Regions from separate parts of the Homo sapiens genome. Here region 1 is linked to region 2. Evidence: promoter capture Hi-C in 16 types of primary human blood cells and fetal thymus (Javierre and others, 2016). All regions are on one chromosome and are shown on one strand. The core of a region is centred on a gene start or on the middle of the fragment in contact, and the rest is flanking DNA. Distances in the headings are between cores, read along the strand shown. Region 1 holds the start of LOC105375977 (a long non-coding RNA gene). Region 2 holds the start of CER1 (cerberus 1, DAN family BMP antagonist).

What was found. The method cuts DNA at HindIII sites, captures the fragments that hold promoters and counts their contacts. A CHiCAGO score of 5 or more calls a contact.
Region 1: a fragment that was not itself captured here is called in contact with the fragment with the promoter of CER1 in region 2 in 1 of 17 cell types (M2 macrophages); the score reaches 7.4 in M2 macrophages.

Annotation. Positions count from the first base shown.
Region 1 is chr9:13,435,014-13,441,869 of GRCh38, reverse strand. It overlaps LOC105375977 (a long non-coding RNA gene), which reads right to left and starts at 1,135. Exons shown (of 4, transcript XR_929484.3): 1 at 874-1,135; 2 at 589-691. The HindIII fragment of the contact is 2,380 bases long and covers 1,690-4,069 here.
Region 2 is chr9:14,719,483-14,726,413 of GRCh38, reverse strand. It overlaps CER1 (cerberus 1, DAN family BMP antagonist), which reads left to right and starts at 3,681. Exons shown (of 2, transcript NM_005454.3): 1 at 3,681-4,248; 2 at 6,028-6,690. The coding sequence starts at 3,742. The coding sequence ends at 6,324. RefSeq lists enhancers at 2,656-3,593, 3,594-4,533. The HindIII fragment of the contact is 2,921 bases long and covers 806-3,726 here.

The DNA.
Region 1 (6,856 bases), core at 1,630-4,129, 1.3 Mb after region 2:
GTTAACAATCTGAGTATTGCTCACTCCTTCCCAGAGAAACGCCCTCTATGTGGTAGATCTTAACGTATACACAGAAACTGATTAATTTTTTAAAAAAGTTTCCTGTGTACATAGCTAACTATATGAAAGGTATAAAATGGGCATGTGTGGTTTTTGATGAATTTTTGGTTTCTAATCAATAATCCAAAGATGTAGACTTTTTTTAAAAGTAAAGCAGATTAATAGGAATAAGTTATTCTATGTGTGGGCAGAATTAAATAACATGTAGCATATCTGTGTACTTAAAAGGATGGACTCAGGAGTTGGATTATATGAAATCAAATCCTAGTTACGTGACTTAACACCTGTGTGAGTTTGGGCAAGTTACTCAATCTCACCATATGTCAGTTTATCCATCTGTAAAATGGGAATAATGATAATACCTCCCTCATAGTCTTATGAAAAGAACTATATGAATTAGTAAATAAAAAGCACTTAAAACAATGGCTGGTATATAATAAGTATTCAAAAATATTTACTGCCTTAATAATCAACATCATATTATTATCTAATAAATCCAGTATGTTACTAGTAGATCTTTCTGCTTACCAGTTGACCCAGGATCTAGAAGTCCTGGATTTCAGATGCAGCTTCCCCACTGATCAACTGGCTCTGTGATCTTCATTTAGTCACAGTTTCCTGCTTTCTTTACCTATAAAAGTAGGGAAAGTTGAGAGATCATTTATAAGTCTGGTTATCTATTATAACATAAATCTTTAAAAGTAATTCAAAAGTTTCCTGAAGATGTCTATTGATACTACAAAGAAAAAAGTGACACGGAGGAACTGAAGACCAGGGCAGAAGAACTGAGAAGTGTGAAAGTTGTTTCAGCACCTCATGTTGGAGAGAATTTGCCTCCTACATGTAATGCCACTATGTCCAGTCAAGGTGCCACAGAATGAAATACTGGGACCACCACACAGCTGAGTGTAACTATGTCCTAAGGCTGCATTCGCAATCCCTAGTCACAATTCCTCGCTCTCTCAGAACAACGGTGTCTAAGAGTTCTGCAGTTCCAACCCTGGTTTGTGACAGACCACAGACGTGTGTTCAGGGATATATGGCTTCCTCTCTGTGGACAATCAAACTTCTTGGCTCTCCAGAGTATTTTAATCCCTTCCATAGAATAAGTTAATCATTTTTTTTTTTTTAACCAAGGCACAGAAGTGCATGGAGTTTTTCTCTTGGGAGCTGAAGTTATGCCTTTCCCCTGCCTACTGTCCTCAATATCAACACCATTCAGAACGAAGTGCTTCTCAGCTGAAGTCTTCGTAGAAGTAAAATACCCAGGCACTACAAAGGTTCTTTAGCACCAAAGACTTTTATGGATGAGTGTTGAAAATATTTAATATTCTATCTGCTTAATGGTAAATAACACAGAACAATTCTGAGCACTTAGCCTGAGCCAAGCTACTTTCTAAATGCTTTCCGTATATTAATTCATGTGCTCCTTACCAAACCCTATATGGGCATTTTTATCACATCTCAGACAGCAAACATGATAAAGCATTTAAGATCACATTGTGGGGAAGCTTGTGAAGAATGTAAGCTTCCTCTTACTTGAGAACCCAGAGTCCTAGCAGCCACACCATGACCTAACTCCAGCAATAAACACAAACAACACATTTTACAAGCAAAGCCAAAAAAGCTTTCCAACCAGATATTAGGATTTATGACTATTAAATCAGACTATAATATACATCTATTTGTCACCAGCTAGTTTAATTCTTTACTATTTGAATTGTGATTTCACATCTTGTTCTGATTTGAATTTCCCAATGACCTTGGGAAATAAGAAAAACCTGGATTTTTAAAAAGTACATGTTAGCCTTGTTAGCCTTTCCTTCTCTTGCCTATAATTCCTATTTTAGATCATTTCTAAGGAAACTAACCTTCTAATACTTACATACTAGCCAGCTGTAATACTAGCAAGAAAATCCACTAGCTCCTCTAAGAATACTAAGCCCGGATCCTCCAAATTTGGTAATAGAGACTCTCCCCCTGGGATGGATCTCTGAGCCTCTATTTGTGTTGTATTAGATAAGTCTGTATTACTCTACTGCTGTCACCTGCTAGTTCAATTAATAAAAGCAAATCTAGCCCCCTCGAATGTGGCCAAGGAATGAGTAATTCCTTCACAGAGGGGACAGCCCTGCTGGACCTACGTTATAGTTGCCCAATCTGGCCATCCTACCTATATTTTAATTCTCCCTGCATTGTCATCCTTAGAGGACTGACATTCTATTTTATTAAGGCAGGCAAAAAAGAACAGGGAAACATAGAATGCTTAGGCCAAAAAAAGAAAAGGGAAGCACATTGTGATTTAACACTGTGAATGACTTTTGAAATAGTAAATGGAGTTGAAGCTAAAGATTACCTCTGAATACAGCTCTATATTTTCTCCAACAAAAATAAACAGATATAAATGTGTACATCCAAAATATATTTTAATATATATTTTAATTTTTTCAATCTTCGCTACAAGAAAACAAATGACCGTGCCAACAGCATTAAGCAGAATTAACAAAAATTATGGTTCCCTGTTGCAAAATCAACTATAGCTCCACATATAAATGTCCTTGTCATCCAGTCTGGAATGGTTTAAAGCAAGACATTTGTTACCAAAATCTTGATCACCATTATAAAATCTTAGAAGTTCAATATTTAGCTAAAGGAATTCCAGATTACACCAGAAATAATGTGATATATGCATGCACACTGCATCTTGTAGCATTATAAGATAGTATAAATCACATGCAGCCAAGTCCAAGTATTTCAAGACCAGAATTTTTTATTCATTTCTTCACTTGAAACATTAACTTTAGAAGTTAGGTCAAATGTCTTTGAATCCTACCTCCACCATTTAAAAGCAAGCTGAATTAAGGATAATTATATAAATGTTTGGGGCCTCAGTTTACTTTTTACTTATCTTTAAAATGTATAATTTCTGCCCGCGAGTTGCAAGGCAGTATTAAAGAAAATGTATGCTTCATTCCCATCAGAGAGCATGGCTCAGCGTAGGTGCTCTATAAATAGTCTAGCTTCTATTTTAATAATTAGCTCTACCTTACATTCTCTGAATTTCTGTATCTGTTGCTGATATCATCTCAATTCCAGTTAAGTCCTTCCTGATTAAACAGTTCTTCCTTGGCTAGGGATCAAATAATCAAGTGCAAAAAAACTACAAAGAAAATTAGAGCATAAGAAGTGAGAAAGAGATGATCAAGGGGAGAAAATTGGGCGATCTCTTATTGTATTCCTGAAACTGATATTCAAGGGCTAGGGGAGCACAATGCCATGGTTTTGGTTTCAGCATTAAGAGGCGGCATATTGCCATGCAACTCAAGAAAAGGAGACATGGTATTCTGTTCTTGGTTGTAGAAGAGGCCTTGGTCAATATGACTCTCTGGAAAATATACAAATATGTACAATTCTAATTCCCTTTTAAGCAACGAATGTTTATGCTCATGAAAAAAAGCCTGTAGGCATTGACTTGATTTCCCTACAAAACAAACAAAGTCATCCTGAAGATGATTTTGTTGTTATTATTGAGTAGATTAACTTCAACTCACCCATCTGAATGCATGATACTCCAGCATATCCTTGAAAAAACTCACTATAATTCAGGGGAAATCTTGTACAATAGGCCTCTCTCAAAAATTGTGCAATGTGCCAATTTTCCCATTGTCAGGGTGGGTGGGAAATAGTGTGTGGGTGTGTCCCTAGACAAGCAACCTAAGAAGAGAGCAGGAGAAAGCTGAGACACAGATGGCGAATGTCTGGGCTATCCTTCCTGACACAAGTGTGTTTGTGACTGGCTCTGTCTCCCATGCAATGGCTTCAGCTGGATATGTGCCTGGTGCATTACATATGACAGAGGGAATGGAGAAGTTGTTTCCCATAGAGAGTATGAAGTTTAGAAGACAAAGTGAATCTGTAGGGGAAACTTCCAGGTCTGTGCTATCCTGGAAACATACCATACCATATCCTATTCAGCTAATAGGAGAGTCTCAAACTACTCTAAGAAGCTTTCTTTAAAGGAAATCTTATACATGTTTTCTCACTGGAATGGGGCAGGGCAAATAACATTTTCACTGTAATTAGAGAACATGTTTTCAATTTGCATAAGGAAGAGGAGTCAGGCTTAATCTGGGTGACTCCGAAACATGTCTTAGTGAATGTTACAGAGAGGGCAAATTCAGCTCAATAGAAAGAAATTTTTGACAATTAAATCTACCCAGGACTGGCGCAGTGGCTTACGCCTGTAATCTCAGCACTTTGGGAGATCGAGACAGGTGCATCACTTGAGGTCAGGAGTTCGAGACCAGCCTGGCCAACATGGCAAAACTCCATCTCTACTGAAAATACAAAAATTAGCCGGACATGATGGCGCGCACCTGTGGTCCCAGCTACTTGGGAGGCTGAGGGAGGAGAATCGCTTGAGCCCAGGAGGTGGAGGCTGCAGTGAGCCGAGATTGTGCCACTTCACTCCAGCCTTGGTGACAGAGCAAGACTCCATCTCAAAAAAAAAAAAAAAAGGAAAACTGGAATGCACTGGAGGAGCACATTAAGGATTTTCATACCTTGGAAAAGAGTTGAGCTAGAATCCTGAGATTCTATAAAAACGTTTGATAAAAGAATGGGAGAAGTCATGGTCTACGGGAACACTGAGAAGCAGAGTTGCATAAATTCTAAAGTAATACATGGAAAGCAACTAAACTGCTCTGCTTCTTCACCCCACAGTCCCACTCAAAAGCACTACCATAAATACATGAGCTCGGTGCCAAGAAGACAGGATTCCATACTGGGGACAGCTCTTACTCCAGTGACTTCAGGAGGAGGCTGGGTAGAAGGAAGACCCAGATGACAGTTAAGTCATAAGTTTCTAGTGGCCTAAAAACACACCACTTTTTTTTTTTTTAGCTCTGGTGGGATTCTGCCTATAGTTCTTGCAGGCCTCCTCTGTTGTTTTGCAGACTTCTAGACAGAGGGAGTTTTCTCCAATCTATAATCATAATTTAGTTGCTTTACGGCTCTTAAAGAGAATGACTCAGTGGAAATTATGCCAGAACTGTGCTTAATATCTTTCATAATAAGAACTGCTGATGGCTTCTGTTTCTAGGTTTTCATCATCTAAATGCCCTCTCCCATTTCTCCATGTGGCCATCTCTGCCTGAAACTTTAACTCTCATTCCTTGAACCCTTCCTTGGTCTTTGTATGAATCCCTACCTGGATGTTCTCCCTTCTCTGTGCTTCTACAGCACTAGACCCCCACTCTAGAACGTGGGACCAGGACCAGCTATGAAATTTGTGCAGCCAAAGCAAAATGAAAATGTGGAGCCCCTTGTTCATAAATTATTAAGAATTTCAAAATGGTGACACAGAACATTAAACAAAGTGTAGGGCCTGCTAGGCATAGGGCCCTTTGTAATTGCAAAATGACATGTCCATGGAGGCAACCCTACTCATGGCACTGTAATCAGTTTCTGTGTTACATAATATTTTGTGTGGACTTTGGGTTATTAATCACTCATCACCGTTTATTTTATAGTGGCATCCATAGTTCCCCCTTTCTCTGTCTCTCTCTGTCTCTTTCTCTTCTCCTCACTCTCTGACTTTCAATCTTGAGAACAAAAATACAAAAATAAGGAGGGAATTTTGAATGCATTTGTACACCAGCAGTGCCCTCCAAAACCGTTGAGAAGTTCCTGGTACCCAAATCCTTACATATATGCCTAGTTCTTCCTCTGTTTTCAAGCCTGATTCTCCAGTGTTCTAGTTGATCCTCTGAGTTTCTGTTGCCTGCAATCAAAGAACCCTGCAAGAGATAGGTGTATCGCATTCTCTCACTGAACTGTGATTCTTTGGTCTAATTAAAACTATAGCAGGCATGCATTAAATACTGCACACCAACCAAGTACAAAATACTTATGTATAGTATTTCATTTAATTTTCACAATGAGCTTTCAAGGTAGGTAATACTCTCCCTTTTCAGATGACAAAAATTATTTTCTGAGACATCAGTTAATTTTCTTAATGTCTTAGACACAGTTACTAGTTATGGGACCAAGATTTTCTCACTGACTTTTTCTAATTCCCAAGACCACATTTTCCCACAATGACTTATTTTTTCCATATCCTCATTGTCTAGCACATTCCTTGGCACATCATATTCCCAATAACTTTACAGTGAGTGAATAAACAGAGTAAGAAATATCCACGTCCATGTCTTCATTAGTTCATCACCAATATAAAATGGCCTACAATTATAAAGTCACATTTTTATCCTTTGCCTCTGTCATCATAAAATTTTATTTGCCATTTAGTACTATGAAAACATTGGCAGATCTATCATCTATTTCAAACATTGCCTTAGCATACCAATAATCTCGTTTATTTTATGATTGTTTCTGAGCTTAATTGTGACTGCCACTTTCAGATCAAAAGCACAATTACTAGCATGCATATATATCAATTATTGATGCTCAAGGAATAAACTAAACAACTTGAATTATGTTGGCCTCTATTTAAATAGAGGCATTCTCAAATTATTGCCCTTTACCCAGAAAAATAAGTGGAAGGTATAAAGGTGCGTAGAGGTTAATAGTTGGCCTAAAAATGTAATTGTGCCATTCTGCATAGCGTTGGCACAAGACATGCAGGTAGTAAGAGCAGTTTCAACTTCTATATGGGGTCTATATAACCATAGCATAAACAGAGGAAATACACTTGGCATGTAAAAACAAAATCCATAATTTTTCCCCTTTAATGTGCCTAACAACTCAATGTAAATAAGATGTCACTGAGCAGAAGACT
Region 2 (6,931 bases), core at 2,432-4,931:
TCCTAATTTTCCCTTTTCCTTGTTCCTTGGAAAATAAGAAAAAAGGTCCTGTTTTCTTCTGAGTTAAAAAAAAAATAATCTAACCTGCCATGACATGATTGCTATTCTGTATTTTGAAAAGAGAGGTAGTGATGAGGCAGTGGCATGCTCCCCAGTCAGATTTCTCTCCTGAATCCTTCAACCCAAATGTCCTTTTCCAGCTCTCAGTTGTCCTGTTTAACTGTAATGTCCACCCCCCACCTCAACACTGCCTCTCACCTTTTGTTGATTTAAGATAGGTTTTTAGGGAAGAACTTAGTCTCTCTGTTCGCCCTTGGAGAGCACTGGGCTTCTTTTTAACTGTCTTCTGAGAGTCTGTAAGAGGGACAGAAAATGTAGCTGTTGCTGTCCTCTCATAGGCACACTGGGGAGGTCTGAAAAGGAGACAAACCACCTCAACGTGTCTTGAGCGGCTGGGTCTCATGGGCCTCTTTTCTTGTCCATTTTATAAAAGTGTCACCAGCATATGAAAACATTTTTTATTTAAGTATCTTCTCGAGGTCTTTAGAGTTCCTGAAGACATCTTAGTGCCTAAGAAACCCAAGTCAAGTTGAAAACAGTCAGATTCTGCTGAAAGCCTGAACTGTAAATGGAAATGAATGGATTCTGGGATTGGCCCCTCTGGTTCTCATGCATGTCTAGGGTTGGCCCAGGAAGTGGACTTAGGAGGCTTGGGCTCACTCACATGAACTCAGGCTCACCCTTCACTGTGGCATTTGGTACTAAGTGCACTAATAATTGGCGATGCTGTCTCCTCATGAAAGCTTCCTACTGGGTCTGGAGACCTCCTGCAGACCTACTTCCATTTCCATTTGGTTCATCCAAATTGGGAGGTAACTAGATGCCTGTATCAACTGAAGACCAACAGAGGCAGCATATTTTTGCTGAAAGCTACAAAATCTTCACTTATTTTCTTAAGAGATTATAATGTATTACATTATACATATATTACATGTTATACATACATAATTATACACACATAATTATACACACACAGTGTATCAATGGCTTTAGAATTGGTGAATGGACACGATAGTGAAAGGTGATAGTCATTGCCTTTAGCTGAAAAAGGCAGAGGTTGGAGATAGGCTTGTTTCATAGTTCTCATCACAGAAGGCTTGGCTTTGCTAGATTTACTTTTCACGGATAGTATTTACTAATGGGAGTAGGGAGAATATTTCAAGATATTTGCACATTTTCTCAAAAGAAGTGACAGAACAGCAAAAGGATATTCTCTGTGAGTGATTTTTAAATGGCACTTATAAGCCCCAAATTAGGATCAGAGGAAGGGAAGTTTAGGACTAAAGGAAAGTGAAAAATGGATAACTGACATCCCTATAGATGATTTTATACAATAAAGTTAGATGATGCATAAGAAATCCCACTAGACTATCTAACCTACTTGAGGGCAGGGACAAAGTTTTACTCATTTTTCAATTATCTACCAGTATCTAATATGATTCTTAACACACAAAGTGAGTCTTCTACACATTGCAGTTCAACAGGAATTATCTCAACTGTATCTCATGTTCAGTAATTCCAGAGCCAAGCAAACTGAGACCCGAGATAGAATTTCTGAGATTGTCTTTAGTTTTGGGAAATAGTAGATACTCTGATTGATAACAATGGAATTTCAGTTACTGAAAAGTAACAGTTAAAAGGATTCAGGAAAGGTATCACAGCTGGCTTCCACACCATATTATACCAGGAGGCCTAGTGACTAGCTCTGGAAAGCGTATAGCATTGGATGGCTGAGGGGAATTAAGAAATTCAAGTAGCAGTCAATTAAAAAAAAAAAGATGTTGACATAGCATGGTGGCTCACGCCTGTAATCCCAGCACTTTGGGAGGCAGAGGCAAGATGGTGGCTCAAGGCTAAGAGTTTCAGAGCAGCTTGGGCAACAGAGTGAGGCTCTGTTTCAACAACAACACAAAATTTTAAATAGCCAGGTGTGGTAGTGTGCCTGTAGTCCCAGCTACTCAGGAGGCTTGCTTGAGCCTAGGAGTTTGAGGTTACAGAGTGCTATGATTGCACCACTGCACTCCAGACTGGGCAACAGAGCAGAACCCTTTTCCTAAAATAAAAAAAAACAATGGCAAATACACATGCTTATTTATTATATATCAACAGCACCTTTCATTAATACTAGCACACGTTCCATAGATATTTGGTACAAGTACAATATATCTCCACTCATGGCATTCTGGTAAAGTGATGGTCCATGTTAAAAATAGCTCATTATCATGGGTAAAGGGACTTACTTAAGGCTTTATTTCATAGAAATCAGGCATGGCTATCAAGAAGAACAGAAATGCCTGGAAAACAGACTCCAGTGGGTCACTTCTTGGAAAGAAAGTTTAATCAGTATTGACAAAAAAGGGGGAACATGTTCCAGGACTATTTGTGTTATTGAAAGCAAGGAATATAGTGATTGAATTAAAAGGGGAGAAATAAAAGCAGATATTGCATTGCTTCCCAGTGGAAATACTGTTTGAATCATGTGGTAGGCTGATCGGACTCTATTCTGGGGTTTCAGTTTTCTGGACGTGTTTCTTTTTCGTATCCTAGGCTGATTCATGATAGTTTTGAATGATAGTTATTTTTCAATTTTTCCTTTGATCCCCGAAGACTCTTATTTGTGTCAATCTTTATTTAGCCTGGCCATCAATTAGTGTAAAACAAGGGGAGATGATGTGGATTCAATAAGGTAAGAAACTGACTAGCCAGCGTCACACACAAAGTTATCAAACCTGGTTCTTAGAATCCACGTTCTCATGTCTGGCTCTTTGTTCAAAGGGAAAAAAAAATCAATAGGATGGCTGGAGGGAGACATTTCCCTATCCTCATTGAAGACTGATGAGCTGTCAGTCTATTACGTGGTATCCTGTTGAGGAACATGTGAACAATTGGAAGAGTTTATCTGATGACTGACCAGTTGTGAAATTTAGCACCCATTAATTGATTCTTAATGTGAGAGGATTAACTTGGGAATTGTGAGTTTCTACGTGTGGAAAGGAAAACATATTCCCTTTACTCAGTTACTGTGCAAAAATCAATAACCCCAATTTGCATGTAAGTAAGAAACAATATGTCCCTTGCTCAAAAAAATTAACATCCTTCTAGCTCTTCCTTTCTTCTCCTTACAACTTTGATATACTTCTTCGTGTGTGTGTGTGTGTGTGTGTGTGTGTGTGTGTGTGTGTGTGTGTGAATAGCCTTCCTAAAGGCCTGGGCTTTTTCTAAATGTATGCCTTTAATTTTTATCCAAAAACTTCTCTTACAGCAACATGTCTTGTCTATTCTATTCCAGCACAAGGCAGATGCACAGCAAATGTGAGCTGACTCTAGTCCTTCTTCTGAAAACAGCCATGGGAAATTTAGGCAAAGAATGTGTTGTCTTTGCTAATACTGCTCTTTAAGCCCCAGACATAGCTAAACTCTTAGCTAATTACCCCCTGGGTCCCAGGCTTTCACTGGGGCCTTTTAAAATACACAAAACCAAAGTGACGGCAGGAGGCCATTAGCACTACATAATTCAAGCAAACAATAAATGTGTTTATTCTGCCTGGCTACTGACCACCTGCCTTCCCATCCCGCCAGGCAGGTATCTATATATACGATTTCCTTTTTCCCAGTCCTGCAGAGAATGAGCCTCTCCTTTGGGCCTCATCATTTACAAAAGAAGCTTGGGCCCCTGACAGCATGCATCTCCTCTTATTTCAGCTGCTGGTACTCCTGCCTCTAGGAAAGACCACACGGCACCAGGATGGCCGCCAGAATCAGAGTTCTCTTTCCCCCGTACTCCTGCCAAGGAATCAAAGAGAGCTTCCCACAGGCAACCATGAGGAAGCTGAGGAGAAGCCAGATCTGTTTGTCGCAGTGCCACACCTTGTAGCCACCAGCCCTGCAGGGGAAGGCCAGAGGCAGAGAGAGAAGATGCTGTCCAGATTTGGCAGGTTCTGGAAGAAGCCTGAGAGAGAAATGCATCCATCCAGGGACTCAGATAGTGAGCCCTTCCCACCTGGGACCCAGTCCCTCATCCAGCCGATAGATGGAATGAAAATGGAGAAATCTCCTCTTCGGGAAGAAGCCAAGAAATTCTGGCACCACTTCATGTTCAGAAAAACTCCGGCTTCTCAGGGGGTCATCTTGCCCATCAAAAGCCATGAAGTACATTGGGAGACCTGCAGGACAGTGCCCTTCAGCCAGGTATGTGTTCTGGGGGGAGAGCAGGTAAGAGTTTGCAGGTGGTAGTGGACAGCTGGGATGGATGGAGAGTAGGGGAAAAGGCTGTCAGGAGCCTGACTCTAGCTTAACTACAGATTTGGTCCTTGGGCATTCATCATAGGATTTGGCAAAGATTAAGTTTCCTTCTGGCCTTTCCATTTTTTCTTGGCATTGTGGAAATGCTGCAAGAATGATATGATGATACTGTCAATATCAGTAATCATTCATTCACACTGAAGACACAGAGCTCTGTTTTATTTATTTATTTTTGCATTGGAGGTGATCTACTCAGAGATATAAGTCAGACTGTACCCTCAGTTAGGAAACTGAGAATTTAGAGTAATCACCAGAACTCCTCTGTAGCTATCTTTCTGCACTCTATTAATATGTGGATGAGCAGGTCAACTCCATTTGTTGATAAAGTGGGGTGCATTGGACTCCTTCCCAAATACTCTCATATCCATTTACGATGGTCTTAATCCCCATAGTCCATACTTAATTACTTTATAGGTTTATGAGGGACTTCTTTAATAGCTTGCTAAAGCTATCCCACAACCTCAAAGTACGTTGAGGTTCTCAGGCAAAAGTTGTCATATCATTTCTAGTATTATGATAGCAAAAAAGTGATTTTCTTTCACTTATTTTCTCATATGAGCTTTTTAAAAAATCAATCTTGATGTGAGATCATATCTCCTCCCCTTAGAAGTACCTTTCTCCTGATTCATGTTGTGTTGGCTGATTTGTAGTTATTATGATCAATTCCATGCTATTAAGACAAAGGGACATCCTACTGTCTACTTCCTCTGGCAATATCTACATTCCAAATGTTAAATTAAAATTGAGAACTTGCATTAGGTCCTTAAACATGAAGATATTGAACCAAAAACATGCAGGGTAGAGTAAAATTTTATAGTCGAGTAATGCTACCCAATTAAGCAAGCAATAGAATAGGGCAATTGACTGTTCAAGGCAGTTAAGTATTCTGCCTGAAAAGGCAAGGATATGTAGCAATGGCAAGTCAATTATCAAATAATAATGACTACTCTGTTGGCCATGTGCAATTAGAAAATTACCCCTAAGAATCAGGCAATCAAATTTCTTTTGAAATTCTTCTTTTGAATTCTATTGCTAATTAAATTAAAACTAAGATGTTTGACTCTTACATATTTTGAAAGGCATATAAAGCTAGGTGCTTGGAGTTATGAGAGGTAAAGGTGATGTAATATACAATGATTTGCAGGCATATGCATTGTAACTCTGCTTGCATACAACTTCATAGACTTGAATGTACTACAGGTCTTGCAGAATAGGATAGAATTAAACCTAGAATGTTCTGATCTATTCTACGATCAATGTAACAAATATGTATTGGGAGCCTACTATGCACAAAGCCCTGTGAGGAATAAAAAAGTAAGGCACATTACTTATGTAAGATAATTACCATTAGAATTTTTCAATCGCTCACATCCAATTAGACAAAATTGCTTAAGGTTTTGCACGAATAATGTAGAGTAAAATATTTTTTATGTTAACTTAGGGATTCCCTAAAGGCTGTTTAATAATTTACTCAATAAAGAAAATTTAATTGAGGTGGTTCTGTGCCCTTATAGATACCATCACTTGCATATTGCAAATTGTATCCAAAATTGGAAAGCTTTGAAATTTTTAAATTATCCTCAGATTTACAGTCCATAGCTTCTGCATTATGTGTGTTAAAGAAATAATTCAAAATAACGTAATGGAAATGTGTTTGCTTTTTAGACTATAACCCACGAAGGCTGTGAAAAAGTAGTTGTTCAGAACAACCTTTGCTTTGGGAAATGCGGGTCTGTTCATTTTCCTGGAGCCGCGCAGCACTCCCATACCTCCTGCTCTCACTGTTTGCCTGCCAAGTTCACCACGATGCACTTGCCACTGAACTGCACTGAACTTTCCTCCGTGATCAAGGTGGTGATGCTGGTGGAGGAGTGCCAGTGCAAGGTGAAGACGGAGCATGAAGATGGACACATCCTACATGCTGGCTCCCAGGATTCCTTTATCCCAGGAGTTTCAGCTTGAAGAGCTATCCCACTATTACCTTTGAAAAGCAAAACCACAACAGCAAAGATGCTGATTATTCAGTCTGAAAATGTTAAGTGGGTACATAACATTTTCAGGGAAAGGTGACTTGAAACGTAGTTTTAAATTAGAACGATAGAGGAAATGATATTAGTCTAGTTATTGGTACACGTTTGAGACCTTGTCTCAGCTCTGCCACTAACTAGCCGTAGAATGTTAAGTTGTAAAACCTTTCTCCATCTAAAGATTTTCATCTATAAATGACGGACCCGACCTAGATGATTGCTAAAATCCTTTCCACTACTAATATTCCGTGATGCATTTTCTCCAAGTTTGGGTAAAAGCCCTCCATCTAAAGAAGGAAAAGAAATAAGCGAGACCATAAAAATGGGCTTCTTTAATGTGTGTCAAATCACCAGCAAGCAAAGAAGCAAGATAGAGAGGGAGGAAGGAAGGAAGGAAGGAAGGAAAGAAGGAAGGAAGGAAGGAAGGAAGGAAGGAAGGAAGGAAGGAAGGAAGGAAGGAAGGCAGGCAGGCAGGCAGGCAGGCAGGCAGGCAGGCACGCAGGCAGGCAGGGAGGCAGGCTACGTGAAATATTTGTAGGAAA